Regions from separate parts of the Homo sapiens genome. Here regions 2, 3, 4, 5 and 6 are each linked to region 1. Evidence: promoter capture Hi-C in 16 types of primary human blood cells and fetal thymus (Javierre and others, 2016). All regions are on one chromosome and are shown on one strand. The core of a region is centred on a gene start or on the middle of the fragment in contact, and the rest is flanking DNA. Distances in the headings are between cores, read along the strand shown. Region 1 holds the start of ZNF699 (zinc finger protein 699). Region 2 has its middle 8.3 kb from the start of ZNF426-DT. Region 3 overlaps ZNF426 (zinc finger protein 426). Region 4 overlaps ZNF560 (zinc finger protein 560). Region 5 overlaps LOC105372269 (a long non-coding RNA gene). Region 6 holds the start of OR7D2 (olfactory receptor family 7 subfamily D member 2).

Region 1 (4,657 bases), core at 1,282-3,781:
ACTCCCTTTCCCTGTCTGCTAAGCAATGGGTGCCTTCCCCAGGCACTGACGCTACTGCTAGACCAAGGTCCGCTAGGTAACGGGCTCCTTCCCAGGGGCTGGCATTACCGCTAGACCAGGGAGCCCTCTGGTGGCTCTGTCCAGGCATAACAGAGGGCTCACCCTTGTCTTCTGGTCACTTCTCACCATGTCCCTTCAGCTCCTATCTCTGTATGGCCTGGTTTTTCCTAGGTTATGATTGTAGAACAAAGATTATTATAATATTGGAATAAAGAGTAATGCTACAAATGATTAATGATATATACAATCATATCTATAATCTATTTCTAGTATAACTACTCTTATTCTATATATTTTCTTTATTATACTGGAACAGCTTGTGCCCTCGGTCTCTTGCCTTGGCACCTGGGTGGCTTGCCACCCACGCGTACAAAGAAGGCAGAAAGGAAATACAGAAAATTCAAACACTGCTGGGATTCTGAATGTTGTTTGTCTTTTCCTTATACTTTTCCTTTAAAATAAAAAACTACAATGAGAACATAATGCTTCATAATAGAAAAAGATTTACACTTAAAAAACATAGATGATGAAAGGGAGCTGGCTAGGGCACCAGGGACAGGCATTGGGAAGGTGACCTCAAGCCGCAGTGAAGAAGTAATGAACAACCTAGGGACCAATACAGAAAGGCCACCTGTGGTTCACTTATATAACACATCTCTACCTCATATTATACCAAAATACATTCCCTGAGCAGTAAAGAATTATACGTTTTAAAAAGCAGTACAATTTGGAAGTAAATTAGGAAGTATTTTTATATTTTAGAGTTTGGGGAGACATTTAAAAGCAAACTAGGAAACTCAGAAACCATTTTACTAAAAGTATAGATTCATTGGGGATATATAAAATTGAATATATATATTTTTGAGATGGAGTCTTTCTATTGTCGCCCAGGCTGGAGTGCAATGGCGCGATCTCAGCTCACTGCAACCTCTGCCTCCCAGGTTCAAGCGATTCTCCTTGCCTCAGCCTCCTGAGTAGCTGGGATTACAGGCACCCGCCACCATGCCCAGCTAATTTTTTGTATTTTTAGTAGAGATGGGGTTTCACCATGGTAGCCAGGCTGGTCTTGAACACCTGACCTCAGGTAATCCACCGGCCTCGGCCTCCCAAAGTGCTGGGATTACAGGCATGAGCCACTGCGCCTTGCCTAAAATTAAATATTTTATATGGATATCATATTATAAACTAAGAGGAGCAAAATTATGTTATCAACTCAATTGTTGCATAAACATTTGATAGTGTTCATAAAAAATTATTGATAAAATATCTTTATAAACCTGGTTTAAAAAGATTAACTTGATAAGAGGTGCAACCTGTTGTAAACAGCTTACTGAGGAACTTTGGTAATCATTACCGACCAAGACAAGAATGCTTAATTTCTTTCCGACTTATAGTTGAGGAAGCCCTAAACAAACAATAAGAAAAAGAAATGACTCTGGGTGTGGTGGCTTACACCTGTACCCCTAGCACTCTGGGAGGCTGAGGTGAGAGGATAGCTTGAGCTCAGGAGTTTGAGACCAGCTTCAGCAACATAGTGCGATCCCATCTCTACAAAAAAATAAAGAAAATAGCTGGGTGGGGTGGTACGCGACTGTATTCTCAGCTACTTGGGGGGCTGAGATGGGACCATCACTTGAGCTGGGGAAGTCAAGGCTGCAGTGAGCCATGGTCGCGCCACTGCACTCCAGTCTAGGCGATAGAATGAGACATTGCCTCACATAAAGAAATGAGTTATACACATTAAAACAATGAAAATATGCAGAGAAAATATTTATATTTGATGGTTCAAATAATAAACTGACAGCTATCAGAATTCAGCAAGTTTCCAGGAAAAAGGTTCTATTTAAATAATTATCAATGGCTTCCCTCTACAGGAGAAGTTATCAATACAACAATGAAAGGGAAAACTAAAAGGCCCAAAAGGACTGAGTGAGTGTCAAGGAGAGTCTGTTTCCTATTAGAGCTGCAAATATATGTGTCCTGTGTACAGGACTGTAGCAACGTGGAGGATAGGTAGAAACCCGATCGATGAGCATCCTGTATCCGTGGTAGCTGAGAACCTGGATGGGAAGCCCTAGCCTTAGCCCCATCCCTAGGCCTTGTCACTTAAGCCCCGCCCAGCCCTCGTCTCCGCCCCCTAGGAATTTCTACCAAGCCCCGCTCCCAATCTGGTTCCACCTTTAGCCCCGCCCCTTGGAGTATTTAAAAGGCCACGCCCCTAGGTCTAGCCCCAGTTCCGCCCCTCAGGCCGAGTCATGCAAGTCCAGTTCAGGGTTCTGTTTCTTCTCTGTTTACTCCAAATCATGAAGAAACTAGGATTTCTCATCCACTTGCGGCTGGAACCAGCCTTGGCGCTCCTTTGCATCCCGCTCCTACCTGCTCCACCCCCTTCACCTCAAGTCCCGCTTCCCAGGCCCCGCCCCATACGCCATTTGCAGCGCCGAAAGAGGAATCAGAAGTGTGCTTCTGCGCATGCGCGAGTCGACAGCCTTGTCACCCTACGCCTCCGCCCGCGTCTGAGGAACATTTTTGCCTCCGCCCGCTTCCTGTCCTGCCCTGCCCCGCCCCGCCCTGCCTGCCCCGGGTCGGGTCCGCGGGAGACCGAGGGCTGGGTTTGGGAATCGGCGGTCTAAGGGCTGCCTCCCCGCCACTCCTTGTCCGGACCCCGCGCCCGGGGCCTCCCGCCGCCGCGGCGCCTCCTCAGAGAGCCCGGGTCAGCTGCCCCTGTGGCCGCGGCTGGTCCCAAACTCACTGAATCGGGAACTCTGGTCTGGGTACAGAAATCGGGGTGATTCTGATGCAGGCGAGAGTTGGAGAACCAATGTCGTAGTTCATCAGCCTCCGAAAGCATCCTTTGCTCTCTTTCCAGAAAGGAAGAGCATCTCTGCCATTCGTGTCTCAAGGACAAGCGCTTCAGCCTCGTTCTCTGTGAGCTGATCTGTGGATCGCGGCGTGTCGGGTGAGCACGGGGTGACATTTGCCTCGGCTCGGTCCCCTCCTGTCCCCTCTTTATGCATTAGGTAGTGTTTGGGCCAAGCGCGGTGGTTCACGCCTGTAATCCCAGCACTTTGGGCGGCCGAGGCGGGCGGATCGCTTGAGCCCAGGAGTTTGAGGCCAGCCTGGGCAACATAGCAAGATCCCGTCTCTACCAAAAAAAAAAAAAAAAAAAAAAGTAAAATAAAAGGTGCTCTCCTGTGTTCCCAGCTACTCGGGAGGCAGAGGTTGCAGTGAGCTGAGATCGCATCACTGCACTCCAGCCTGGGCAACAGAGCGAGACACTGTCTCAAAAAAACAAAAAGATAGTATTTGGTCTCTGGATATTATATTCTGCCTGTGGACATCAGTTTGATACATTATATTCAAGTGAAAGTGAACTGATGCATTTTGTCATTAATGATGCATTTGAATCATTTGTCTATAGATTGGTTAAATTTCACACAGAAAATTTGGTCATCTGTCAGTTTCAATCTTTTCCCTTTTTATTCCTTGCAGTTTCCATTTCTTTTCATTTCTTTACTGCACTTGCCAGGACCTCCAGTACAATGTCCGACAGAATAGCATGTAATTTACATCCTGTCTTGTTTCTGATTCCAGAGGGAATTATTCTATCATTTCACCATTAAATAGGATGTTTGCTGTAGGTGTTTGTAGGTTTTTTTCCTTTCTTTATTCCTATTTCTTTTTAGAAAATAGGAGTCTCGCTCTGTTGCCCGGGCAGGTCTCGAACTCATGGGCTCTCCGCCTCCCAAAGTGCTGGAATTACAGGCATGAGCCACTGCACCCGGCCTGACCGTGTTTTAAACCGCTGATTTTTTTTTCTTTAATTACTGGGTGTAATCAGGTTTTAGATCACTGCTTGAAAGTTGTACTACTTTCTAGAAATTCATTAATTACCTGTGCATCTTCATATTTATTCCTTAAATTTTTTCTATATTCTCCTTATGATATCTGTAATTATGATTAATTCTTGTTCATTTTTTTTTTGTTGTTGTTGTTTATGCCCTGTTGCTCTTAAAATTGCTGAGTCTGTTGCTGGCTGCAGTGGCGCATATCTGTAGTCCCAGCTGGTGGGAAGCTAAGGCAGATGGATCGCTTGAGCCTAGGAAATGAGATCAACCTGGGAACATAAAGAGTCTGTCTTAAACAATAAATTAAATTAAAAAATTTTTTTAAAAAGCTGAGTTTGTCAGTTTCATTAGTTTTTCTTTTTGCAAAGGATGCTTTTTTAGCTTTTCTGATTTTGTTTACTATGTTTTAAAAAAGATTATTTTCTATTTTCTTTCTAAACTTTTATGCTGGTCTTTATTCAACTTTATATATCAATAGTCTAGCCTATTAATACCGATTTTTTTTTTTTTTTTTGAGACAGAGTCTCGCTGTGTCTCCCAGGCTGGAGTGCAGTGGCGTGATCTTGGCTCACTGCAACCTCTGCCTCCTGGGTTCAAACAATTCTCTGCCTCAGCCTCCCAAGTAGTGGCGATTACAGGCACCTGCCACCATGCCCAGCTAATTTTTTTGTATTTTTAGTAGAGGTGGGTTTCACCATCTTGGCCAGGCTGGTCTTGAACTCCTGACCTTGTGATCCACCCACCTTGGC
Region 2 (4,657 bases), core at 1,538-4,037, 240 kb before region 1:
GGGTTCTTGGTCTCACTGACTTCAAGAATGAAGCTGCAGACCCTCAAGGTGAGTGTTACAGTTCTTAAAAGTGGTGTGTCTGGAGTTTGTTCCTTCTGATGTTCAGACGTGTTTGGAGTTTCTTCCTTCTGGTGGGTTCGTCATCTTGCTGGCTTTAGGAGTGAAGCTGCAGACCTCCGCAGTGAGTGTTACAGCTCTTAAGGCTGTGAGTCTGTAGTTGTTTGTTCCTTCTGATGTTCAGACGTGTTTGGAGTTTCTTCCTTCTGGTGGGTTCGTCATCTTGCTGGCTTTAGGAGTGAAGCTGCAGACCTCCGCAGTGAGTGTTACAGCTCTTAAGGCTGTGAGTCTGTAGTTGTTCATTCCTCCTGTCCAGAGTTGTTCATTCCTCCTGGTGGGTTTGTGGTCTCGCTGGCCTCAGGAGTGAAGCTGCAGACCTTCACAGTGAGTGTTACAGCTCATAAAGGCAGTGTGGACCCAAAGAGTGAGCAGCAGCAAGATTTATTGCAAAGAGTGAAAGAACAAAGCTTCCACAGTGTAGAAGAGGATGTGAGCGGGTTGCCGCTGCTGGCTCAGGTAGCCTGCTTTTATTCCCTTATCTGGCCCCACCCACATCCTGCTGATTGGTGCATTTTACAGAGAGCTGATTGGTCCTTTTTGACAGGGTACTGATTGGTGCGTTTACAATCCCTGAGCTAGACACAGAGTGCTGATTCGTGCATTTACAATCCTCTAGCTAGACATAAAAGTTCTCCAAGTCCTCACCAGATTAGCTAGATACAGAGTGCTGATTGGTGTGTTTACAAACCTTGAGCTAGACACAGGGTGTTGACTGGTGCATTTACAAACCTTGAGCTAGACACAGAGTGCTGGTTGGTGTATTTACAATCCTTTAGCTAGACATAAAGGTTCTCCAAGCCCCACCAGATTAGCTAGACACAGAGCACTGATTGGTGCGTTTACAAACCTTAAGCTAGACACAGAGTGCTGATTGGTGCATTTACGGTCTTCTAGCTAGACATAAAAGTTCTCCAAGTCCCCACCCGACACAGGAGCCCAGCTGGTTTGCCTAGTGGATCCTGCTGCAGGCGGAGCTGCCTGCCAGTCCCATGCCATGCCTGCACTCCACAGCCCTTGGGCAGTCAATGGGACTGGGCACCATGGAGCAGGGGGTGGCGCCCGTTGGGGAAGCTTGGGCCATGTGGGAGCCCACCACAGGGGGGCTCAGGCCTGGTGGGCTGCAGGTCCTGAGCCCTGCCCTGTGGGGAGGCGGCTGAGGCATGGCAAGAATTCGAGCATGGCATGGGTGGGCTGGCAGTGCTGGGGGACACGGCGCACTCTCCGCAGCTGCTGGCCCAGGTGCTAAGCCCCTCACTGCCCAGGGCTGGTGGTGCCAGCCGACTGCTCCAAGTGCAGGGCCCACCTGGAACTTGCGCTGGCCCGTGAGCGCCGAGCACAGCCCCGGTTCCCACCCATGCCTCTCCCTCCTCACCTCCCTGCAAGCAGAGGGAGCCGGCTCCAGCCTTGGCCAGCCCAGAGAGGGGCTCCCACAGTGCAGTGGTGGGTGGAAGTTCTCCTCAAGTGTGGCCAGGTGGACACCAAGGCTGAGGAGGTGCTGAGAGTGAGTGAGGGCCGCCAGCATGTTGTCACCTCTCACAGCAAGGGCAGCAGCCGTTAGAAGTTGTAATGGGGATTGATAGGGCAACTGGGTAGAGGGAGAGGTTCAGTATTCATGGTGTATTAGAAAACTCATAGTGTCTACAAGCAACCTTTCATTGCTATTCATGGGGTTGTGTATAAGTAAACAAGAAGGGGGGCTGGGAGGAGAGGCTGAAGAACAAGGGGAAGGTAGCCAAGGATGGAGTGAAGTGCAGGACAAATGTCTTCCTAAATAATAGTAACTGCTAATGTTTTTAAGTTTGCCAGTATTGATAGAGGGCTTATCTATAATGTGGAGCTAAAAAGCCCCATTGGTTTTGGTAATATGTGTAGTTGGGCTTTGGAGATGAAGAGTGAAGAAGCATAGAGAAGGTGAAATGTTACCTAGGGGAATTCCAGTCAGTCTTTGCCGAGAGATGCACAAAGGAGTGACAACAGGGATAGTAGTTTATGTTGTGAGGGGTTCAAATATGGGTGGAGTAGAATTAATATAAGGATAAAGGTTTTTTTTTTTTTTTGAGACAGAGTCTTGCTCTGTCACCCAGGCTGGAGTGCAGTGGCACGATCTCGGCTCACTGCAAGCTCTGCCTCCTGGGTTCACGTGATTCTCCTGCCTCAGCCTCCTGAGTACCTGGGACTACAGGTGCCTGCAACCATGCCCAGCTAATTTTTTGTATTTTTAGTAGAGACGAGTTTCACCGTGTTAGCCAGGATGGTTTCAATCAAGGATAAAGATTTTTTAAGTAGATGCGGAGAAGAGCATCAGCTTGCTGATATGAAATGTCTGAGGTTTTGCTAGACCTGTCTAGAAAGTAAAGAAGTTCTTCAGAAGGGTAAAGATGAGGGCTGTTAAAGGAGGTTCAGAGATGTAGGGAGACAGGAGATGTTGCCCAGTCGGTATGTAAGGTGGGGACAGCTGTGTAAGAGCAGGAAAAAAGGGAAATGCAAAGCCAGCAATTGTTCACTAAGGAGGGATTAGAAAGAGTGAGGAGGGAGTGAGCGAGATTGATAGTATGTTGGAGGTAATTAGGGAGGGGTAGAGGATGGCAGGAGAATGGGAATGAGGAAAAGTAAAGAAAAGGACTTCATCAGGGTGAAAGAATTGGAGTGTGCCTTGCCAGCAAAGGTCATCTATCCACTCCAAGGGGGAGTTAAGAGTGGTGGTTAGGGGCTAAGACCAGGAGATATCAGCTATGATGGTTTGGAGAAAAAGTGTAAACTGGCAGTGTAGACAAGGGCAGGACATTTATGGGTAGGTGAGAATGAAGAGTAGGAGTATGACTAGACAGAAGATAGCAGGGATGAAAAGTTTTGGGGTACAGTCCAAGTAGTGGGGGTGACTGTGTGAAGCCCTGTTGTAAAGATCAGGGTAAGGAAGAATAGACCTAACAAAATGAAAGGGTGTATTAGGCTCACAAGTGTCACTACTGTTCTTCAGAAATGCGGGTGAGTTTAAGGGAAGTAGGGGTGAGTACTTGCAACTTCCAGGAGGAAGAGGAGAGATCAGGCTGTCTGTCCGATGGGCACAGCTTTATCCTGGAATGGTGAACCCAATGGGCAGGGTCCTGCAGATGGATGGCCATTGGAGTACTATAGATGACTAAGTGGGGTCCAGTCCACCGAGTTTGTAGAGTTTGAGGGGTCAGATTCTTAAGAACTGATCGTCCAGCTAGGGTGTCCTCATATGGCTGGGAATCTGGAGTAGGCAAAAGAAGATTAGCAGCCTGGTAAATTTCCTGTCTAGCCTGCTGGAGGACTGGAAGGTAGTCCCCCAGAGGGCTGGTGTCTGGAATGAGGTTGGGGCCCAGCAAGAAGGTATGTCCATATAAAAGTTCAAATGGACTGTACCCTGTAGCATCCCGAGGACAGGCTCAAATTTTGAGGAGGGCAGGTGGTAAAAATACTGTCCAGTCCTTTTTAAGTTGAAGGCTGAGTTTGGTGAGGTGTGTTTTTAAAAGACCATTATTCCTTTCTACCTTTCCAGAAGACTGAGGGCGGTAGGGGGCATGAAGTTTCCATTGAATGCCCAAGGCCTGAGAGACTGCTTGAGTGACTTGACTAATGAAGGCCAGTCTGTTGTCAGACTGTATAGAGGTAGTAAGTCTAAATCGAGAAATTATGTCTGACAGAAGGGAGGAGATGACCACGTTGGCCTTCTCAGGCCTGAGAGAAAGGCCTCTACCCATCCAGTGAAAGTGGCTACCAGACCAAGAATATTTTAGTTTCCTGACTCAGGGCATGTGGATAAAGTCAATTTGCCAGTCCTGGGCATGGGTGAACCCCTGAGCTTGATGTGTAGGAAAGGGAGGGGGCCTGAGAAATCCCTGAGGAGTGGTAGAATAGCAAATGGAACACTGAGAAGTGATTTCCTTGAGGATAGATTTCCATGATGGAAAGGAAATGAGAGGGTCTAAGAGGTGGGCTAGTGGCTTGTAACCCACATGGAAGAGGTCACGAAAGGAAGATAGAATGAAATGAGGCTGTGAGGGTGGAAGGAGGAATTTTCCTTGATCCAAGAACCATTTGTCTTGTTTGGGAAGAGATTGATAGGTGGAAGTTTCAGTGGGAGAGTAGGTGGGAGTGACTGATGAGAAGGAGAAAAACTGGCCATGAGGGACAGAAGTTGGAAGGCTAGCTGCTTCTTTAACTCCCTTATCAGCATAATTGTTGCCTTGAGCAATGGGATCTGATGTCCTTTGATGGCCCTTGCAGTGAATGAAACAAGCTTCCTTGGAAGTACAGCAGCTTTAAGAAGAGTTTTTATTGAGGAGGCATTAATGATGGAAGACCCTTGTGTAGTAAGGAAACCTCTTTCTGCCCATATAACAGGATGGTGGTGAAGGATGTGGAAGGCATACTTGGAATCAGTATAGATATTGACACGTATTCCCTTTGCAAGAGTGAAGGCTCGAGTTAAGGCAATGAGTTCAGCTTGTTGAGAGGCAGTGGAAGGGGGAAGGGCCATAGCCTCAATGATAGATGTGGAAGACACTATAGCATA
Region 3 (4,657 bases), core at 1,017-3,516, 210 kb before region 1:
TATTTAAATTCATTTCAAGTATATGAACTCACATGGTAAAGAAACCCTGTGAATATAAGTAGTATGATAAATTCTTGAATTTTTTTTTTTTTTTTTTTTTTTTTTTGAGGCAGAGTTTTGCTCTTGTTGCCCAGGCTGGAGTGCAATGGCTCAATCTTGGCTCACTACAACCTCTATCACCCAGGTTCAAGTGATTATTCTGCCTCAGCCTCCCAAGTAGCTGGGATTACAGGCATGTACCACCATGCCCAGCTAATTTTGTATTTTTAGTGAAGGCAGGGATTCTCCATGTTGATCAGGCTGGTCTCGAACTCCTGACCTCCAGTGATCTGCCTGGTTTGACCTCCCAAAGTGCTGAGATTACAGGCATGAGCCATCACGCCCAGCCAGTTCTTCAATTCTTACAGTCCCTTTCCATGTCATTAAAGAACTCACACTGGAGAGAAATCTTATCAATGTTAGAATTGTGGTAAAGCTCTCTGTTGTTCCCATTTACATGAAAGATGTGAACAGTCACATTGTAGAAAAATGCTGTGAGAGTTGGGAATCTGGAACCACTTCTTTATTATCTCAGGTCATAATGAACTTGTAAGAATTCACAGTGGCAGGAAACCCTATGTAAATGGAAAATATGGGAAAGGCTTCATTTAATCCATAGGACTGATACCACAAAACTCCCACTAGGAGAAAACCTATGTTTATACGGAATGTGGGAAAATCTTCACTTATTTCTCAAGCCTTAAAGTGTATGTCAGGATTCCCAGTGGAGAGAAGCCATATTGATGTAAGGAATGTGGGAAAGCCCTTGCCTGCCACTTAGTCCTTGATAAACATTTTAGAACACAAACTGGAGAGAAACTATGAATTCAAGGATTGTGGGAAAACCCTTTTATGTTCCACAAGCTTTAATATTCATATGCAATGTATGCTGGAGAATAACTTGATGACTATAATAAGTGGAATGGCCTAGGTCAGGGATCCCCAAACCCCTGGGCCATGGACTGGTACTGGTCTGTGGCCTGCTAGGATCCAGGGTGCACAGCAGGAGGTGAATGTAGGATGAGCAAACATTACTGCCTGAGCTCAACTTTCTGTCAGATCAGCAGTGGCATTAGATTCTCATAGGAGCATGAACTTTATTGTGAACTGCACATGCAAGGGATCTAGGTTGCACACTCCTTATGAGAATCTAATGCCTGATGATCTGAACTGGAACAGTTTAATCCCCAACTCCAGTCCGTGGGAAAAATGTCTTCCACGAAACTGGTCCCTGGTGCCAAAAAGTTAGGGGACCACTGATTTAGATTATGTCACATGTCCCATCCACTCATTAACATTAAGGCTTTCATCCCTGGGACCTCAAGATAATGGTGGTATTTAGAGATGTGGTTTTTTAAAGAGGTGATTTTAAAATGAGGCAGTTAGAATGGGGCCCTCATTCAATATGACTGGTTTCCTTATAAGAAGTGAAAGAGATACCAGGGTAGCAGGCACAGAATTTTATGTGAAGTGACCGGAAATGGTTACCTTCAAGGCAAAGAGAGATTCCTGGAGGAGATCCTTCTTTTAAGGCTCATTATAGAGGAAATCATCCTTATCTACACTTTGATCCTGGACTTCCAGCCTCAAAAATTATGAGCAAATAAATTTCTGTTGTTTAAGCCATTCAATGTGTGGGGTTCCTTTTTTTGGTCAACTCTATCAAAATAATACAGTAAAGAATGTGAGAAAACCTTTAGATATTCCATAGTCTTTAATATTCATGTTCAGAGTTACAATGGAAAGAAACCTTATGAATGTAAGGAATGAAATGTTTTCTGTCTGTGTAGTGTGTGTGTGTGTGTGTGTGTGTGTGTGTGTGTGTGTGTGAGACACAGTCTCCCTCTGTTGCCCAGGCTTGAGTACAATGGCATGATCTTGGCTCACTGCAACCTCTGCCTCCTGGGTTCAAGCATTTCTCCTCTCTCAGCCTCTGGAGTAGCTAGGATTACAGGCACGTACCACCATGCTCAGCTAATTTTTGTATTTTTAGTAGAGCTGGGGTTTCATCATGTTGGTCAGGGTGGTCTCGAACTCATGGTCTGAAGTGATCTGCCCACCTTGGCTTCCCAAAGTGCTGGGATTACAGGCATGAGCCACCACACCTGGCCTCTTTTCAATCTTTGGTCTGCTAAATGTAAGAAATCACACAGGAGACCATTTCAGTGAATCTAAGGCATGTGAAAAACCATTTTATTATCCCTTAGAGCATCCGAACTCATCTGGTGAAAGAACTTATAAAACTCACATGAGAAAAAAGAATACAAAGAAGAGGTTTCTTGTAGTATGAAATCAAAGAACGTGATCTTGCACAAAATGGAAGAGCTTAGAGTGGATTGAAGCCCCATCATAAGGAATGTGGGCCGGGCATAGTGGCTCACACCTGTAATCCCAGCACTCTGGAAGGCTGAAGCGGGCAGATCACTTGAGCCCAGGAGTTCGAGACCAGCCTGGGCAACATGGTGAAACCTCATCTCTACAAAAGTACAAAAATTAGCTGGTCATGGTAGTGTGCGTCTGTAGTCCCAGCTACTGAGGAGGCTGAGGTGGGAAGATCACTTGAGCCCAAGAGGTGGAGGTTGCAGTGAGCCGAGATTGTGCCAGTGCACTCCAGCCTGGGTAACAGAATGAGACCCTGTCTCAAGAAAAAGTTGACTGAAAAATAAGAGAAACAAAAGGAACGTGGCAGGGCTTTTAAAAACTTCATACCTTATAGAAGGTGTAGAAACTCAGTGGAGAGAAACCTGCTTGTAAATCAAGTGGAATCACCTTTGTTCATTCATAAGGCTTCTTTTGTGCATTGTAAATTGCTGTGAAGCCATGGGAAGGGGAAAAGTGGGATACAACCCTTAGATATTTCACACGCCATAATATCTGCCTGACGGAGCCACCAAGCATGTCCCTTCTTTAAAAGGTCAGGTAGGGGGCCTGGCATGGTGGCTCACACCTCTAATCCCAGCACTTTGGGAGGCCAAGGCGGGTGGATCACTGGAGGTCAGGAGCTCAAGTCCAGCCTGGTCAATATGGTGAAACCCCATCTCTACTAAAAATACAAAATTAGCCAGGTGTTGTGGTGCATGCCAGTAATCCCAGCTACTTGGGAGGCCAAGACAGGAATTGAAGACCAGCCTGGCCAACATGGCAAAACCCCATCTCTACTAAAAATAGAAAAATTAGCCAGGCATGATGGTGGGGATGTGTAATCCCAGCTACTCAGGACACTGAGGCAGGAAAGTTGTTTAAACCCAGGAGGTGGAGGTTGCAGTGAGCCAAGATTGCGCCACTGCACTCCAGCCTGGGCGACGAGCGAAGCTCCATCTCAAAAAAAAAAAAAAAAAAAAAGAAGAAGGTGAGGTAGGGGCTGGGCCTAGTGGCTCATGCCTGTAATCTCCGCACTTTGGGAGGCCAAGACAGGAGGATCACCTGAACCCAGGAGTTCACAACCAGCCTGGGGCAACATAGCAAGACTCTGCCTCTTAAAAAAAAAAAAAAGATCAGATAGGGACGTAGTACTAATCTCTTTCTGAAACTGAATGCTTGACATCTCCAAAGAATTCAGTGACCAGCAAGGGAATGTCCCAGTAAGCTTCGCTGGTCACATAGAAATGGAAACGGAATGAGTGCAGCAGCCTGACATTAGCAGCCTTGTGGCTTTACCTATTGGCAGCTACATCTTTTGGAAAAACTTTATCATAATTTTATCATGCATTTCTCCACCTGAAGCTAAGCTGCTGGCTCAAGGGGACCCTTATTTTCTGGCTGGGCCTCTTCAGTCATGATTGGAATAAGCTGAAAGCTGAATGTGTCCACTGGGTTTCTCCAGGCATCCAGCCTTGGAGTGCAATGGTGGGATCTTGGCTCACCGCAACCTCCACCTCCCAGGTTCAAGCGATTCTCCTGCCTCAGCCTCCTGAGTAGGATTACAGGCATGCGCCACCACGCCCGGCTAATTTTTTTGTATTTTTAGTAGAGGCGGGGTTTCTCCATGTTGGTCAGGCTGGTCTCGAACTCCCAACCTCAGGTGATCCACCCACCTCAGCCTCCCAAAGTGCTGGGATTACAGGCATGACCCACCCTGCCCAGCTCTGGAAGCCTTTCTGTATCACTCTTGTTGCAAATAAGATAATTCATTTTGGGGATACATTCAAATAAATGACATGAAGATGAAATTGTCTTTCTGTTTGTCCTATTCTCAGATAAGACGTGTGGCCCCTTAGTTTTCTGTGGTGGTTTTATGTGATTAAATTTGTTTTTGAAAGAGTTTCTGAATATATTACTTGTTCTGTTATGCACATTTTATAAATTAGCACTTTCTTCATGACTGCAGTTGTAAACACTTTCTCATTTGCATTATATGTTCATTTAACAGTGAGCGTGTGTTTAACTGCCAAGATAAGTTTTTTTGTTTTTGTTTTTTCTTTTTTTTTCCATAAAATCCAGATTCTGCAAAACTTGGGGATTTTTTGGTTTTGCTTTGAGATGGAGTCTCCCTCTGTCACTCAGGCTGGAGTCCAGGGGTGCAACCTCTGCTCACTGCAACCTCTGCCACCTCACCTGGCTGTCATGAGGGATTATTAATAGATGCTTTTAGATAGTCCTCTCTAGTGTCATTGATAAT
Region 4 (4,657 bases), core at 1,344-3,843, 170 kb before region 1:
TGGCTAATTTTTGTATTTTTAGTAGAGGCAAGGTTTCGCCATGTTGGCCATGGCTAGTCTTGAACTTCTGGCCTCAAGTGATCCACCTGCCTCCACCTCCCAAAGTGCAGGGATTAGTGGCATGAGGCACTGCACCTGGCTCGTTAAGTTTTGTGGGGTTTTTTTTTATATTCTTTGTTTCTTCCTTTGTCTATTTTTGTGATTAATAATTTTCTCTAGTGTACTTTTGATTCTTTACTTTTTATCTTTTGTGTGTTGGCTATACATTTTTGCTTTGTGGTTACCATAAGACTTATATGAAACATCTTATAGCAGGATATTTTAAGCCGATAACTGTGATCACATAAAATAACTATACTTTAACTCAACCTCTCCTCATTTTATTTTTCTGATATTGTAATTTACATATTTTTATATTGTATATCCCTTAATTATTTTAGCTCTTACTGTTCCTAATACTTTTATCTCTTAACCTTCATCGTAAGGATATAATTCATTTATAAACCACCATTACAGTGTTTGAGTATTCTGAATTAGCTACGTGCTTATTTTTACCTGAGTTTTGTGCTTTGTTTTCTTGTTACTAATTAGTGTCCTTTTTTTAAGCTTGAGAACTCCCTTTAGCATTTCTTATTAGGTCTGGTGTCGATGAACTACCTCTGCTTTTGTTTTTCTTTGAAAATCTTCATCTCTTTTTCATTCCTGAAGGACAGCTTTGCTGGGTATGGTATTCTTTGTGAGCAGTTTTTTTGTTTGTTTGTTTTTCCTGACAGCAGTTTATATATGTCATCCCATTCTCTCCTGGCCTGTAAGGTCTTTGGTGACAGGTCTGCTCATAACCTTATTGGAACTCGTTCATATGTGATTTGCATCTTTTTTCATGCTGCTTCCAAGATCTTCACTTTGCTTTTCATTTTTGACTGTTTGATTATATTATATCTTAGGGTAGCCTTGTTTGGATTGAATGTGATTGGAGATGTTTGCCCTTCCTGAGTATGGATATTTATATATTTTCCTCAGTGTGGAAATGTTGTTATTGTTTCTTTAAGTATGTGTTCTCTTTCTTTCTTGTCTTCTTGTACTCCTGTAACTCAAAAATTTGCTCTTTTGATGATGTCCCTTGAATCTTGTAATTTTTCTTCATTTTTGTTTTTTCTCCTTTGTGTATTTCTAAGTAGTCTGTTTTCAAGTTCAAAGATTTTTTTCTTTTCCTTCTCTACTGTTGATGATCTCAATTGCGTTTTTCATTTGATTTGTAAGAACCATAAAGGAAGGAAGGGATAAAAATACAAGCAGAAATTTTAGGAAAAAGAGAACTCATGAATAATAATAAAAGGTGATTTTCTGAGAAGACCCATCAAATAGTCAATATAAGGGGCAGAGTCTGATTTGCGATTGCTGCTCTGCATGTTTTTTGTCCTCTTGCAGGAGCAATGGGCAGAACTCTGAACGCTAACTTCAGTGTTCTACTTGGAACCCTGTTGAAGCAACCAGAGTTGGAAATGAGTTCTGACTTGTTTGTAAAGGATGACATTCTTGTTCTAATTCTTTATAGTCAAAAGTAGAATAGCACATTTTAAGTAAGCCAGGTATCAATTCCCAGAGTCCTTTATATGGCAGTCATTATGGGGGAGTAATAACAACCACAGAGGATTAGACTTAGGGACAAACTTGACTGCATTCAAGTCCTGGTTCACCGCTTCCTAAGTAGATGATATTAGAAGAGTCATTTGTGTTTTCTGAATTTAGATTTTTTTCAGCACTAAATAGGGATATTGTTCAGATAAGTGAGCATATATATATGTATATATGTATATGCACATATGTATGTGTATATATATGTAATGTCTAACATATAACAGTCCCTAGTAAATGGCAGTTGGTGTTATTAATACTCATTTTATACAGAACATATACTATTTCTAGTGGGTTTTACACATATCACCAGCAGTAAAGATTTAATATATGGTATTTGATGACTGATAAGTAACGCTTGTTGATTAATGATTGATGTCTACATGAGTCCAGATACTCTATATAAAGAGGAATAGATTGCCAGTTATCCACTTAGATTTATAAGCTACCCTGATATGTCCTTGGAATCACAAAAAACTGTGTCCAGACATATTTCACTGTCAGCCTCACAGGATTTGCCCTATGGTAAGTTTTTCCAAAAATCTGCTTTAGGTAACCATATTAGTCTGTTCTCACTGCTATGAAAAAATACATAAGACTGGATAATTATAAAGAAAAGAGGTTTAATTAACTCACAGTTCCACATGACTGGGGAGGCCTCAGGAAACTTAACATCAATGGCAGAAGGCACCTCTTCACAGGGTGGCATCAATGGCAGAAGACACCTCTTCACAGGGTGGCAGGAGAGAGATTGGGTGCAAGCCGGGGAAATGCCACATACTTATAAAACCATCAGATTGGCCGGGCGCGGTGGCTCACATCTGTAATCCCAGCACTTTGGGAGGCCAAGGCAGGTGGATCACAAGGTCAGGAGTTCGAGACCAGCCTGACCAACTGGTGGAACCCTGTCTCTACTAAAAATACAAAAGTTAGCCAGGTCTGGTGGCACGTGCCTGTAATCCCAGCTACTCAGGAGGCTGAGGCAAGAGAATTGCTTGAACCCGGGAGGCAGAGGTTGCAGTGAGCCAAGATCTCGCCATTGCACTCCAGCCTGGGTGACAGAGCAAGACTCTGTTTCAAAAACAAAAACAAACAAAAAAAAACCCACCATCAGATCTTGTGAGACTCACTCATTATCACGAAAACAGCATGGGGGAAGCTGCCCCCATGATCCAATCACCTCCATCTGGTTCTGCCCTTGACATGTGGGGATTATCACAATTCAAGATGAGATTTGGGTGGGGACACAGAGCCACACCATATCAGTACCCCATGCAGAATATATAGTCCAGGGCTCTAGGCCTTAGTATTCACACTAGTAGTTCCTTTCTGAGTTGTTGAAGTGTGCCAGAGAGGCCTGTTGTGTAAGTTAGCCCCCTTAAGTGTGTTCTTTGAGAAGAGGTGCTGCATAATCTCATTTGTGAGTTATATCACCATGGGCACAAAAAGACTTACATTCCTCAGGTCTTAAGTTTCTTTACCTGGCTAGGTGCAGTGGCTCATGCCTGTAATCCCAGCACTTTGGGAGGCCAAGTTGGGCGGATCATGAGGTCAGGAGATGGAGAACATCCTGGGTAACACGGTGAAACCCCATCTCTACTAAAACTACAAAAAATTAGCCGGGCGTGGTGGCAGGTGCCTGTAGTCCCAGCTACTTAGGAGGCTGAGGCAGGAGAATGGCGTGAACCCAGGAGGCAGAGCTTGCAGTGAGCCGAGATCGTGCCACTGCACTCCAGCCTGGGCAACAGAGTGAAACTCCATCTCCAAAAAAAAAAAAAAAAGTTTCTTTACCTGTGCAATGAGGATATTATACTTTTACTTACGACAGCTTGGCCCACAATTCCTTTTTCTTGCTCTAGGTTAGACAGAAGTGCAGTGGCATTTTATGGATGTAATGTATATTTATGTGAGTTTATATGAATTATAAGAGAATTTCGAACCAGGTTGGAATAACTTCCATGCATGCGAATGTTGGAACTGTGATTATGTCTGGGCTCTTATGCCTTCTTTCTTTTCCAGGTCTTTCTAGGAACCCAATCTGCCTTCATGAAGAAAAGACAGAGGCAGAAAGGAAGATGGCTTACTGCCTGACAAATTGTTATCAGGTATGCAGAAAATGTATACTTCCACAAAATGACATACTTGCATCACCAGGTAAACACATTTCCTTCTAGGCAGATGTGTCTCCAGAGCTTCTTTAAGTAAATAAAGACTCACTCAAGCACTGAGTCACTTGTTGAATTTCCCCAGGGAGTGGAGGTTCTCATACTGATAATCCTTGAAAAGCATTTCAGCATTTCAGTAATTGTTAATTAATTTTGTCCCTTATGGTGCCAGATATATATTTCTTATTTTGCTGAGTGGTCTGGCAGATGGAAAGGAAGATGAAAGCATCCTTTACTCAAAGGCTAATCCTGGCCAGGTGCAGTGGCTCACACTTGTAATCTCAGCACTTTGGGAGGCTGAGAAGTGAGTGGCATTATCGCTTGATCTTAGGAATTTGAGACCAGCCTGGGCAACATACTGAGACATTGTCTCCACAAAAAAAAAAAAAAAAAAAAAAAATGCCAGGCATGGTGGTGCATGGCTGTAGTCCTAGCTACTCAGGAGGCTGAGGCAGGACGATCACTTGAGCCCAGTAAGTCAAGGCTGCAGTGAGCCATGATCACACCACTGCAGTCCAGCCTACGTGACAGAGCAAGACCCTGCTTCCCAAAAAAAAAGGCTAATCATTCATCGCTGTTTATCAAGTATATGATGCAGTGTACTCTGGGATATCTTTTAGTAGAGGGAAATAAGTTGAGAAAGCACTCACAGTCTGCTTGTGATGAGAAGTTCATGATTGAGATGTGCCATTAAAGCCATACAACTGGAATTGTTAAGTAGTGAAAGAGCAAGGATAGAGAGAGGAATACCTGAGATTTACCTGGGATTATTAAGCTTTGGGTAGATAATGAGAGACCTCACAACTCTTTATAGGCATTGGGGTCTGTTAACTGATTCTTCAGTGAACACTGGTTAA
Region 5 (4,657 bases), core at 1,104-3,603, 140 kb before region 1:
AACTGGGATTACAGGCACAGACTGGCACACCTGGCTAATTTTTGGACTTTGAGCAGAAACGAGGTTTCACCATGTTAGCCAGGATGGTCTCGAACTCCTCACCTCAGGTGATCCACCCACCTTGACTTTCCAAAGTGCTGGGATTACAGGCATGAGCCACTGTGCCCAGCCTTTTCAGTTCTTAAGTGGGGTGCTTCCAGCTTTTGCCCATTTAGTATGATGTTGGCTGCAGCTATGTCATAGATGGCTCTATTATTTTGAGGTATGTTCCTTTTTTGTTTTTTTCACTTCATATGGTGCTGACTTTCTAAGTTTTTGCTGTAGGTGTTTTAGCACTCTAAACATTTCTCTTAACCCTGCTTTAGCTGCATCCCAGAGATTTTGGTATCTTGTTTTTTTGCCTTCATTAATTTCAAAGAATTTTTAAATTTCCACCTTAATTTAGCTGTTTACCCAAAAGTCATTCAGAAGCAAGTTGTTCAATTTCCATGTAATTGTGTGATTTTGACAGATCTTGGTATTGATCTTTATTTTTATTTCTATTTCACTGTGGTCTGAGAGTATGGTTGGTATGATTTTCAAATTTTGAATGAATTTATTGAGACTTGCTTTATGGCTGAGAATGTGGTCTTTGAGTGTTCTGTGTGCAGACGAGAAGAATATGTATTTTGTGGTTGATGGGTAGAATGTTCTGTGGATATCTATTAAGTCCAATTGGTGAAGTTTCAAATTGAAGTCCAGAATTTGTTAGTTTTCTGCCTCAGTGATCTAACACTGCCAGTGGGGTGTTGAAGTCTGCCACTATTCTTGTTTGGCTGTCTGTTTGTAGGTCTAGAAGTACTTGTTTTATGAATGCGAATGCTCCAATGTTGAAGGTTAAGTCATCTTGTTGGATTGAACCCTTTATCATTATATAGTGCTCTTTGTCCTTTTTTCCTGTTGTTGGTTTAAAGTCTATTTTATCCAACAAAAGAATAATGATCCGTGCTCTTTTTTGTTTTGCATTTGCATGATAGCTCTTTCTCCCACTTTTTGAGTCCATGGGTGTCTCATATGTGTGAGATAGGTCTCAGAAGGATAGTACTTGTCGTTTTTATCCAGATTGCCACTCTGTCCCTTTTAAATGGGGTGGTAAGACCATTTACATTCAAGGCTAATATTGATATGTGAGGATCTGATCCTATTATGAAGCTGTTAGGTGGTTGTTTTATAGTTTCTATTTTGTTTTTGCTTCAAAAGGTCTGTGGGCTGCGTACTTAGGTTTGGTTGTTTTGTGGTAGCAGGTATCATTCTTTCGTCTTCATGTTTAGAACTCCGTTAAGGGGCCAAGTGAGGTGGCTCATGCTTGTAATCTCAGCACTTTGGGAGGCTGAGGAGGGTGGACACCTCAGGTCAGGAGTTCAAGACCAGCCTGACCAACATGGAGAAACCCTGTCTCCACTAAAAAAAAAAAAAAAAAAAAGCCAGGCATGGTGGTGCATGCCTGTAATCCCAGCTACTCCGGAGGCTGAGGCAGGAGAATCACTTGAACCCAGGAGGCAGAGGTTACCATGAGCCAAGATCGTGTCATTGCACTCCAGCCTGGGCAACAAGAGTGAAATGTCTGAAAAACAAACAAACAAACCCCCCGCCACACGCACACACAAAAACTCCATTAAGGATTTATTGTAAGGCTGGTCTACTGGTAATGAAATCCCTTAGTGATTGCTTGTCTCTAGAAATGTTTATTCTACTCTTATGAAGCTTAGTTTGGTCAGGTTTGAAATTCTTGGTTTGAGTTTCCTCTTCAAGAATGATGAAAATAGGCCCCCAGTCTTTTCTGGCTTGTAGGGTTTCTCCTGAGGAGTCTGCTATTAGCCTGATGACGAGATTCCCTTTGTACCTGATGTGCCATTTCCTCTAGCTGCCTTTAAGCTTTTTTCTCTAGCGTTGACCTTAGGCTGGTGACTGTATGTCTTCGTGGTGTTCATTTTATGTAGTATCTGGCAGGTGTTGTCTGGATTTCTTACATATGGATGGCTACCTCTCTAGCACAATTAGGGAAATTTTCTTAAATTATTCTCTCAAGTATGGTTTCCAGGTTGCTTACTTTTTCTCTTTCTCTCCCTGGAATGCCAGTTATTTGTAAATTTGATCACTTTACATCATCCCATATTTCTTGGGGACTTTGTTCCTTACATTTTTTTCTTTGTGTTTGTCTGACTGGGTTAGTTGAAAGACCAGTCTTCAAGCTCTGAAATTCTTCTGCTTGGTGTAGTCTGTTGATGAAGCTTTCAATTTTATTTTAAAATTCCTTAAGTGAGGTTTTCAGTTCCTGTAGCTTTGATTAATTACTTCTTAAGATGTTTATTTCTTATTTTGTTGATTGCTTTATGTTTGTGTTGATTTTCAATCTTGTCTTGGATCTAGCTGAGCTTCCCTGTAGGCCAAGCTTTGAATTCTCCACCTGTCATCTCTGTGCCTCCATTTTGGAAAGGGACCATTGCTGTAGAGTGAGAGTGACCCTTTGGTGGTGTCACAACATTCAGCTTTTTCATGGTGGCAGAATTCTTACAGTTTCCTTCTCATCTGGAGAGGGTTGGGGCTAAAATATAGAAGAATGTGCTTCTAATCTGTGTCAGATTGTTGGTAGAATTAATTTTGTTATGGCTGTAGAATTCCTTACAGCTTATTTTGTCAATGCCAGCAACAGAGAGTATGTCTATTTTTTTTTTTTTTTTTTTTGTGACGGAGTCTCGCTCTGTTGCCCTGGCTGGAATGCAGTGGCGTGATCTTGGCCCACTGCAACCTCCGCCTCCCAGGTTCAAGCGATTCTCCTGCCTCAGCCTCTCGAGTAGCTGGGACTATAGGCACGCGCCACCATGCCCAGCTAATTTTTGTATTTTTATCTAGAGATGGGGTTTCACCATATTGGCCAGGCTGGTCTCGAACTCCTGACCTTGTGATCTGCCCACCTCGGCCTCCCAAAGTGCAAGTGTGAGCCATGGCATCCAGCTGTCTGCTATTTTTTAGTCACTGATATCCAAATCCCCTTTGAAGGGACTCATCTAATTTTGTCAGGTGAATATCTCTAGATATCTCTATACTATAAGTAAATCAAGTTCTCCTAGGAATATTCTAGGAGATTATTCGCTTTGTGTAATGTGTAATCGACTGAATAGGGACTTGAATTGTATCTGGAAAATTCCTTCATTGTTGCCACATAATGTAATACAGTTGACTGACATTGCATCACTTTTGCTATATTTTCTTGATTAGGAGGAAACTGTTTATCCTACCAACACTCAACAGGAGGGGATTATACCAAGGCATACCAGAGTGCAGGACTCATAAGCACCATCTCAGAATTCTGCCTACTATACAGGTAAACCCCCTAACGTGGATGAATCTCACAAACATGATGTTGTGAAAGAAACCAGAAGTAACAAGAGAATGCATCCTATATTTTATGTGTGTGTGTGTGTGTGTGTGTGTGTGTGTGTGTGTGTGTGTATGACTTGGCAAAATTGGTTCTGGTTTAGGGAAAGGTGGAGTAAATGCAGTTATCCTGTCTGTCCCACTGAATGTCCCACCTGGACAGAATGCATCAGCTATTTGAAGAATCTGAAAAGTAAATAGCAGCAGGGAGATGGAAAAAAAAATCAGCGTTCAAAGTACCACCAAGCAGGCAGTAAGTTTACTAGTTTTACCCCTTCTGGTTTCATCTGGTCTGTACTCAGTGTGGCTGAAAAACCAGAGGCACACATCATGACCAACATGGAGAGTTCCAGAAGAAGCCCTCTGGTTCTGGTAATATCAACAAGGGGGTGGGAGGGGTGGTTTCTAATGCTCAGTGAGAAAGAGAGGGAGATTAATACCTCAGTTTGTTTTCTCCATTTACTTGGTTCCAGCCTCCAAGCAATCCTGTGGTGGCAATGAGACATACCATAGACTTTGAGAGCTGGAATGTGAGATAGATGACCTTCTGTGTAGTCTAGCCTCCAGGTAGAGACACAAAGCATACAACAAAATCTTTGAAAATAAAGCTCTCATTGAAACCACAACTCAGAGCGTTGACTAAAACTTGCAAGCTGAACCCAACTGGGTAATTGTCCAGATTAAAAAAAAAAATCAGCTGAGTGCAGTGGCTCATGCCTTTAATCCCTGCACTTTGGGAGGCCGAGGCGAGTGGACCACGAGGTCAAGAGATCGAGACCATCCTGGCCAACATGGTCAAACCCCGTCTCTACTAAAAATACAAAAATCAGCTGGGCGTGGCAGTACATGCCTGTAATCCCAGCTACTAAGGAGGCTGAGGCAGGAGAATCGGTTGAATCGGGAGGCGGAGGTTGCAGTGAGCCACGATCACACCACTGCACTCCAGCCTGGCGACAGAGCTAGACTCCATCCAAAAAAAAAAAAAAAAAATCTACGTTCTCCATAGGACTTAAAGGCCCAGAGTGTTATAATATTCAAAGTGCCCTGAATATAAACCCAAACTATTCAGCATACTAGCAGCAGAGCCTCACAGGGCTGTGTAACAGTACAAAAGGCTAACATTCATGATATTAGAGTCCTAAAAGAAGAAGAAGATGTGTGATGCAGTAAGTTTTTGAAAAGGTAATGATGAAAAACTTCTCAAATTTGATGAAAGACACAAATATTCAGATTCAAGAAA
Region 6 (4,657 bases), core at 313-2,812, 130 kb after region 1:
TCCTAAGAGTGTAAAAAATTTAATATCGGCAAGTCAGATAACAAAGTATATGCGTGAATAGAGCAAGGCAGAAAAAGAAACCATGGTTTTAACATAAGCTAAAATTCATTTAATAAAATGTAACAGCCTGGCTGGGTGCTGTGACTCCTGCCTGTAATCCCAGCACTTTGAGAGGCTAAGGCAGGAGAAATTCTTGAGGCCAGGAGTTTGAGACCAGCCTAGACAACAAAATGAGACACTTGCCTCTACAAAAATAGATTTTTAAAAAATTAGCTACTTGGGAGGCCAAGGCAGGAGGTTTGCTTGAGCCCAGAAAGACCCTGTCTCAAAAAAAAAAAAAGTCAACTTAAACACAATTAATTACAACTAATCAGTGTCATCAGCTTTCTTATGTATCTGCAAACAGCCATGAGAAAAAATAAGAGGAAAAAAAGTCCATTCACAATTGCAATGATAATATATGTAACATCTGGTGCAGAGTGAACATTTAATACATACTTGTTTTGTTTTGCTTTGCTTTGTTGATTTTTTTTTTTTTAGACGGAGTTTTGTTCTTGTTGCCCAGGCTGAAGTGCAATGGTGCAATCTCAGCTCACTGCAACCTCTGCCTCCCAGGTTCAAGAAATTCCCCTGCCTCAGCCTCCCAAATGGCTGGGACTACAGGCACACACCACCATGCCCGGCTAATTTTGTATTTTTAGTAGAGACAGGGTTTCACCATGTTGGCCAGGATGGTCTCGATCTCTTGACCTTGTGATCCACCCGCCTCGGCCTCCTAAAGTTCTGGGATTATAGGCATGAGCCACTGCACCCGGCCGAGAACTATTATATTATACTAGAGAAGAAAAAGGAAGGTGTTAGCAGGTAGACTGAAAGGAATCCACTCAAGGAAGTGCCAGTTCCTACTGACATTGAGAAAGTCACTAGTTTCCAGAATGAAAGGCCATCAGAGGTGGAGGTGACAGAAACAGTTGCAATAGAATCTTTTTTTTTTTTTGAGACAGCGTCTCACTCACTCTGTCACCCAGGCTGGAGTGCAGTGGCGTGATCTTGGCTCATGGCAACCTCTGTCTCCCGGGTTCAAGCCATTCTCCTGACTCAGGCTCCCGAGTAGCTGGGATTACAGGCATCCGCCACCATGCCCAGCTAATTTTTGTATTTTTAGATGAGATGGGGTTTCACCAAGTTGGCCAGGCTTGTCTTAGACTCCTGGCCTCAAGCGATCCGCCTGCCTCAGCCTCCCAAAAGTTGCAATGCCTTAAGACATCTATAACCAGGTAAGGGAATCCTAGAGACATTTTAAAAATCATGAGACATTATCAACCCTGTTACCTCCATCTCTGTTCCTCCCCACACTACTTTTTAAATCCTTTTCACACACGGTACTAACAAGGATAGTGTGAGTCACTCAACTGACATTGCTTGAAAAAAAAAAATGCTGGTATGACGTCTTCCTCCCCTGACTGTTGAATGCTGAAGACAGAATCTAGCAGGGAAAGGCGGGGAGATGGAACTTGTCATGAAGTCATCCTAACTCTCCTCTCTAAGATGCATGAGTGTGGCGTCAGGAAACTGTCCAGGTGAGGTGTTTTAGGGAAGTATTTATGGTTTCTCAAGCCCCAGGGAGCTGATGTCTCATCCTTCCTCATTAAATCCACTGTTCCAGTGATGTTCTACTCTCCAACCCATTCGGCTCCCTTGGGATCAAGAGCAAATGGCAGAAAGGTATGATGTGTTCTAATTCTGTTTCCAAGAAGGCAGCTCTGAAGCCAGGTGACTCTCTCTGCACCTCCCACCCTCTTGGGGCCTCTTTATTCTTGGAAGAGCTTTCATCACTATTGGTTTGGCTTTGAGATAAAGAGGTTTTCCCCTCTGGAATGTGTCGCAGAAGCTACAAAGACCCATCTCTCTGTAATCCCAGTGCCTAAGGGTCTCAAGGTAACACAGAAGAAAATAGAGATGCAACTATTTCCGTGAATCCCCTGTGATCGCGTTGGCTGCAGGGCGTTAAACAGGCTGTGGACATGTCGTAAGTCCTGTTTCAAGAGAGGGAGAGTCAACCATTGCGAGATACAGCAAGATTTCTCTTCAAACAGCCTGCTCAGCTTCTTATTCTCTAATTCCAAGTACCCCCCCCACACACTTTCTTCTCCTTTTCTTCTTTCTGATTTTGCTGCATGCCCAGATATGCCATAGCCCCAGCTCACATTTCTTTCCTTATTTAAGAATAGACTAGCTGTCTATTCCTCTGTAGAAGACCCCTTCCTCCTCTCCTCTGTCTCCCATCACACACCCACCTTATCTAAGACAGTTTAAATGTGTAACCAATCAAGTCTAGTTTAGATTGTGCTGTCCGACCCCAGCCAATGGGGAAAGGACACACAAAGTCAAGAGTCGCATTAAGAATAAAAGTTGCTACTCTCCTTTGTTCAGGGTGCTCTTGTAGCAGCCAACCCTACGAGAAGCACCCTTCTGCGCAGAAGTAAATTTGCTTTGCTGAGAAATCCTTTGTTTGAGTGCTCATTTTTCTTTATGACTCCAAGATTTATTTCTAACAACCATGTAAAACGATGCTATAAGGCTAAGCAAAATAAAGGCTGAAGAATATCCATCACATTTAATGGCATGGAAAACATTAGAAACAGCGATCTGGGTAGAGTGATGGGGAAAATTTCATTGATGGCAAGTTTGGGAGGAACTGAACAATAAGAAAAAAGTTTTTTTCAATTTTTAAAATGATGGTAAAATATACATAACATACAGTTCACCATCTTAACCATTTTAAGTGTACTATTCAGTGGCATTAAGTATATTCACAGCAGCCATCACTATCCTCCATATTCAGAATCTTCTCATCTCCCCAAGCTGAAACTCTGTCCCGTAACACTCATCCCTCATTCACCCTCCCCAGCCCCTAATGAACCACCATACCACTTTCTGTCTCTATAATTCTGACTGTGGTACCTACTTCATAGACGGAAGTATACACTGTTTGTCTTTTTGTGACTGACTTATTTCATTTAAGTGAAATATTGCCAAGGTTCATGTATGCTGTATATGTGTCCGAATGTTCTTTCTCTCTCTCTCTCCTCTCTCTTTTTTTTTCTTTCTTCTTTTTTGTCAGGGTCTTACTCTGTCACCTAGGCTGGAGTGCAGTGGCACAATCATAGCTCATTACAATCCCAAAGACCTGAGATCAAGCAATCCTCCCACATCAGTCTCCCAATTAGCTAATTTGTTTTTTATTTTTTGTTGTTTTTCTATTTATTATTATTATTATTTTTATATTATTATTTTGAGACAAAGCCTCACTCTTGTCGCCCAGGCTGGAATGCAACTTCCACCTCCGAGGTTCAAGCGATTCTCCTGCCTCAGCCTCCCGAGTAGCTGGGATTACACGTGTGCGCCACCATGTCCGGCTAATTTTTGTATTTTTAGTAGAGATGGGGTTTCACCATGTTGGCCGGGCTGGTCTCATATTCCTGGCCTTGAGTGATCCTCCCGCCTCAGCCTCCCAAAGTGTTGGGATTATAGGCATGAGGCACCATGCTCAGGAGAATGTTCTTTGTTAAAGCCACAAAATATTTCATTATATTATATGTATATACACACATTTTGTTTATCCATTCATCTGTCAATGACTGACAGATCTTTTAAAATTAAAATTAAATGTACAAAAATCTGTGTGGTTTGCAGGAATAAATTTCGAGTACTTCAAATATACAACAAAATGTGCTTGGCCGGGTACGGTGGCTCATGCCTGTAATCCCAGCACTTTGGGAGGCCAAGGTAGGTGGATCACCTGAGGTCAGGAGTTCGAGACCAGCCTGGCCAACATGGTGAAACCCTGTCTCTGCTAAAAATACAAAAAAAAAAAAAAAAAAAAATTAGCTGTGCGTGGTTGTGGGCGCCTGTAATCCCAGCTACTTGGGAAGCTAAGGCGAGAGAATTGCTTGAACCCAAGAGGTGGAGGTTGCAGTGAGCCGAGATTGCACCATTGCACTCCAGCCTGAGTAACAAAAGCGAACCCCGTCTAAAAAAAAAAGGGGTAAATATTTTTTCTGAAATATAATTTTTAATATAAAATTATTAACACATTATTTCATTTTTTTTCATTTGTTTGTTTTGGTGCAGTCTCACTCTGTCACCCAGGCTGGAGTGAGCGGCGCAATCTCAGCTCACTGTAACCTCTGCCTCTCGGGTTCAAGTGATTCTCCCACCTCAGCCTCCTGAGGCGTAGTAGCTGTGATTACAGGCATATGTGCCACCACACCCAGATAATTTTTGTATTTTTAGTAGAGATGGGGTTTCACCGTATTGGCCAGGCTAGTCTCAAACTCCTGGCCTCAAATGATCCACCCACCTTGGCCTCCCAAAGTGCTGGGATTACAGGCATGAGCCATGACGCCTGGCCATTTAGGGGTAATCTTTTTAACTGAACAGAAGCAATTGAAGTAATTTGCAACTCGACTGGACAAAAATCATTTGCAATTGATTAATTCCCTGTGGGTTGGCAATAACTTCACAGAGTCCAGGTCTCAAGCAAACAAACGAACATTGCCTTGAGAAGGAAAGAACTAGCTAGGCCTGTCAGACAATGCTTCAGCATGATACTGAACAGTAATGCGGTCATCCTTTTGCCTTATTTAAAAGGTTT

The links. Contacts are between HindIII fragments. The CHiCAGO score rates a contact against its expected background, and 5 or more counts as called.
Region 2: a fragment that was not itself captured here is called in contact with the fragment with the promoter of ZNF699 in region 1 in 1 of 17 cell types (total CD8 T cells); the score reaches 5.1 in total CD8 T cells.
Region 3: a contact is called between a fragment that was not itself captured here and the fragment with the promoter of ZNF699 in region 1, in 8 of 17 cell types (non-activated CD4 T cells, naive CD8 T cells, activated CD4 T cells and 5 more). The highest score is 6.5, in non-activated CD4 T cells.
Region 4: a contact is called between a fragment that was not itself captured here and the fragment with the promoter of ZNF699 in region 1, in 1 of 17 cell types (activated CD4 T cells). The highest score is 5.7, in activated CD4 T cells.
Region 5: a contact is called between a fragment that was not itself captured here and the fragment with the promoter of ZNF699 in region 1, in 4 of 17 cell types (activated CD4 T cells, non-activated CD4 T cells, naive CD8 T cells and 1 more). The highest score is 6.1, in activated CD4 T cells.
Region 6: the fragment with the promoter of OR7D2 here is called in contact with the fragment with the promoter of ZNF699 in region 1 in 2 of 17 cell types (neutrophils and M0 macrophages); the score reaches 6.8 in neutrophils.

The regions. Positions count from the first base shown.
Region 1 is chr19:9,307,712-9,312,368 of GRCh38, reverse strand. It overlaps ZNF699 (zinc finger protein 699), which reads left to right and starts at 2,531. Exons shown (of 6, transcript NM_198535.3): 1 at 2,531-3,019. RefSeq lists silencers at 1-256, 2,612-2,861 and an enhancer at 2,432-2,551. The HindIII fragment of the contact is 15,955 bases long and covers 1-4,657 here.
Region 2 is chr19:9,544,646-9,549,302 of GRCh38, reverse strand. No RefSeq gene overlaps it. Among named protein-coding and RNA genes, the nearest start is that of ZNF426-DT, 8.3 kb to the right of the region's middle. The HindIII fragment of the contact is 3,193 bases long and covers 1,191-4,383 here.
Region 3 is chr19:9,520,231-9,524,887 of GRCh38, reverse strand. It overlaps ZNF426 (zinc finger protein 426), which reads left to right. Exons shown (of 8, transcript NM_024106.3): 8 at 1-1,665. LOC105372268 (a long non-coding RNA gene) reads left to right here and starts at 4,048. Exons shown (of 3, transcript XR_001753862.2): 1 at 4,048-4,657. The HindIII fragment of the contact is 2,722 bases long and covers 906-3,627 here.
Region 4 is chr19:9,474,367-9,479,023 of GRCh38, reverse strand. ZNF560 (zinc finger protein 560) reads left to right here. Exons shown (of 10, transcript NM_152476.3): 3 at 3,655-3,740. The coding sequence starts at 3,711. Among named protein-coding and RNA genes, the nearest start is that of ZNF560, 22 kb to the left of the region's middle. The HindIII fragment of the contact is 3,969 bases long and covers 609-4,577 here.
Region 5 is chr19:9,445,201-9,449,857 of GRCh38, reverse strand. The region is part of intron 1 of LOC105372269 (a long non-coding RNA gene); the gene reads right to left. It also overlaps a transcript of ZNF560 not described here. Among named protein-coding and RNA genes, the nearest start is that of ZNF266, 12 kb to the right of the region's middle. The HindIII fragment of the contact is 161 bases long and covers 2,273-2,433 here.
Region 6 is chr19:9,175,884-9,180,540 of GRCh38, reverse strand. It overlaps OR7D2 (olfactory receptor family 7 subfamily D member 2), which reads right to left and starts at 1,562. Exons shown (of 3, transcript NM_175883.4): 1 at 1,418-1,562. The HindIII fragment of the contact is 28,883 bases long and covers 1-4,657 here.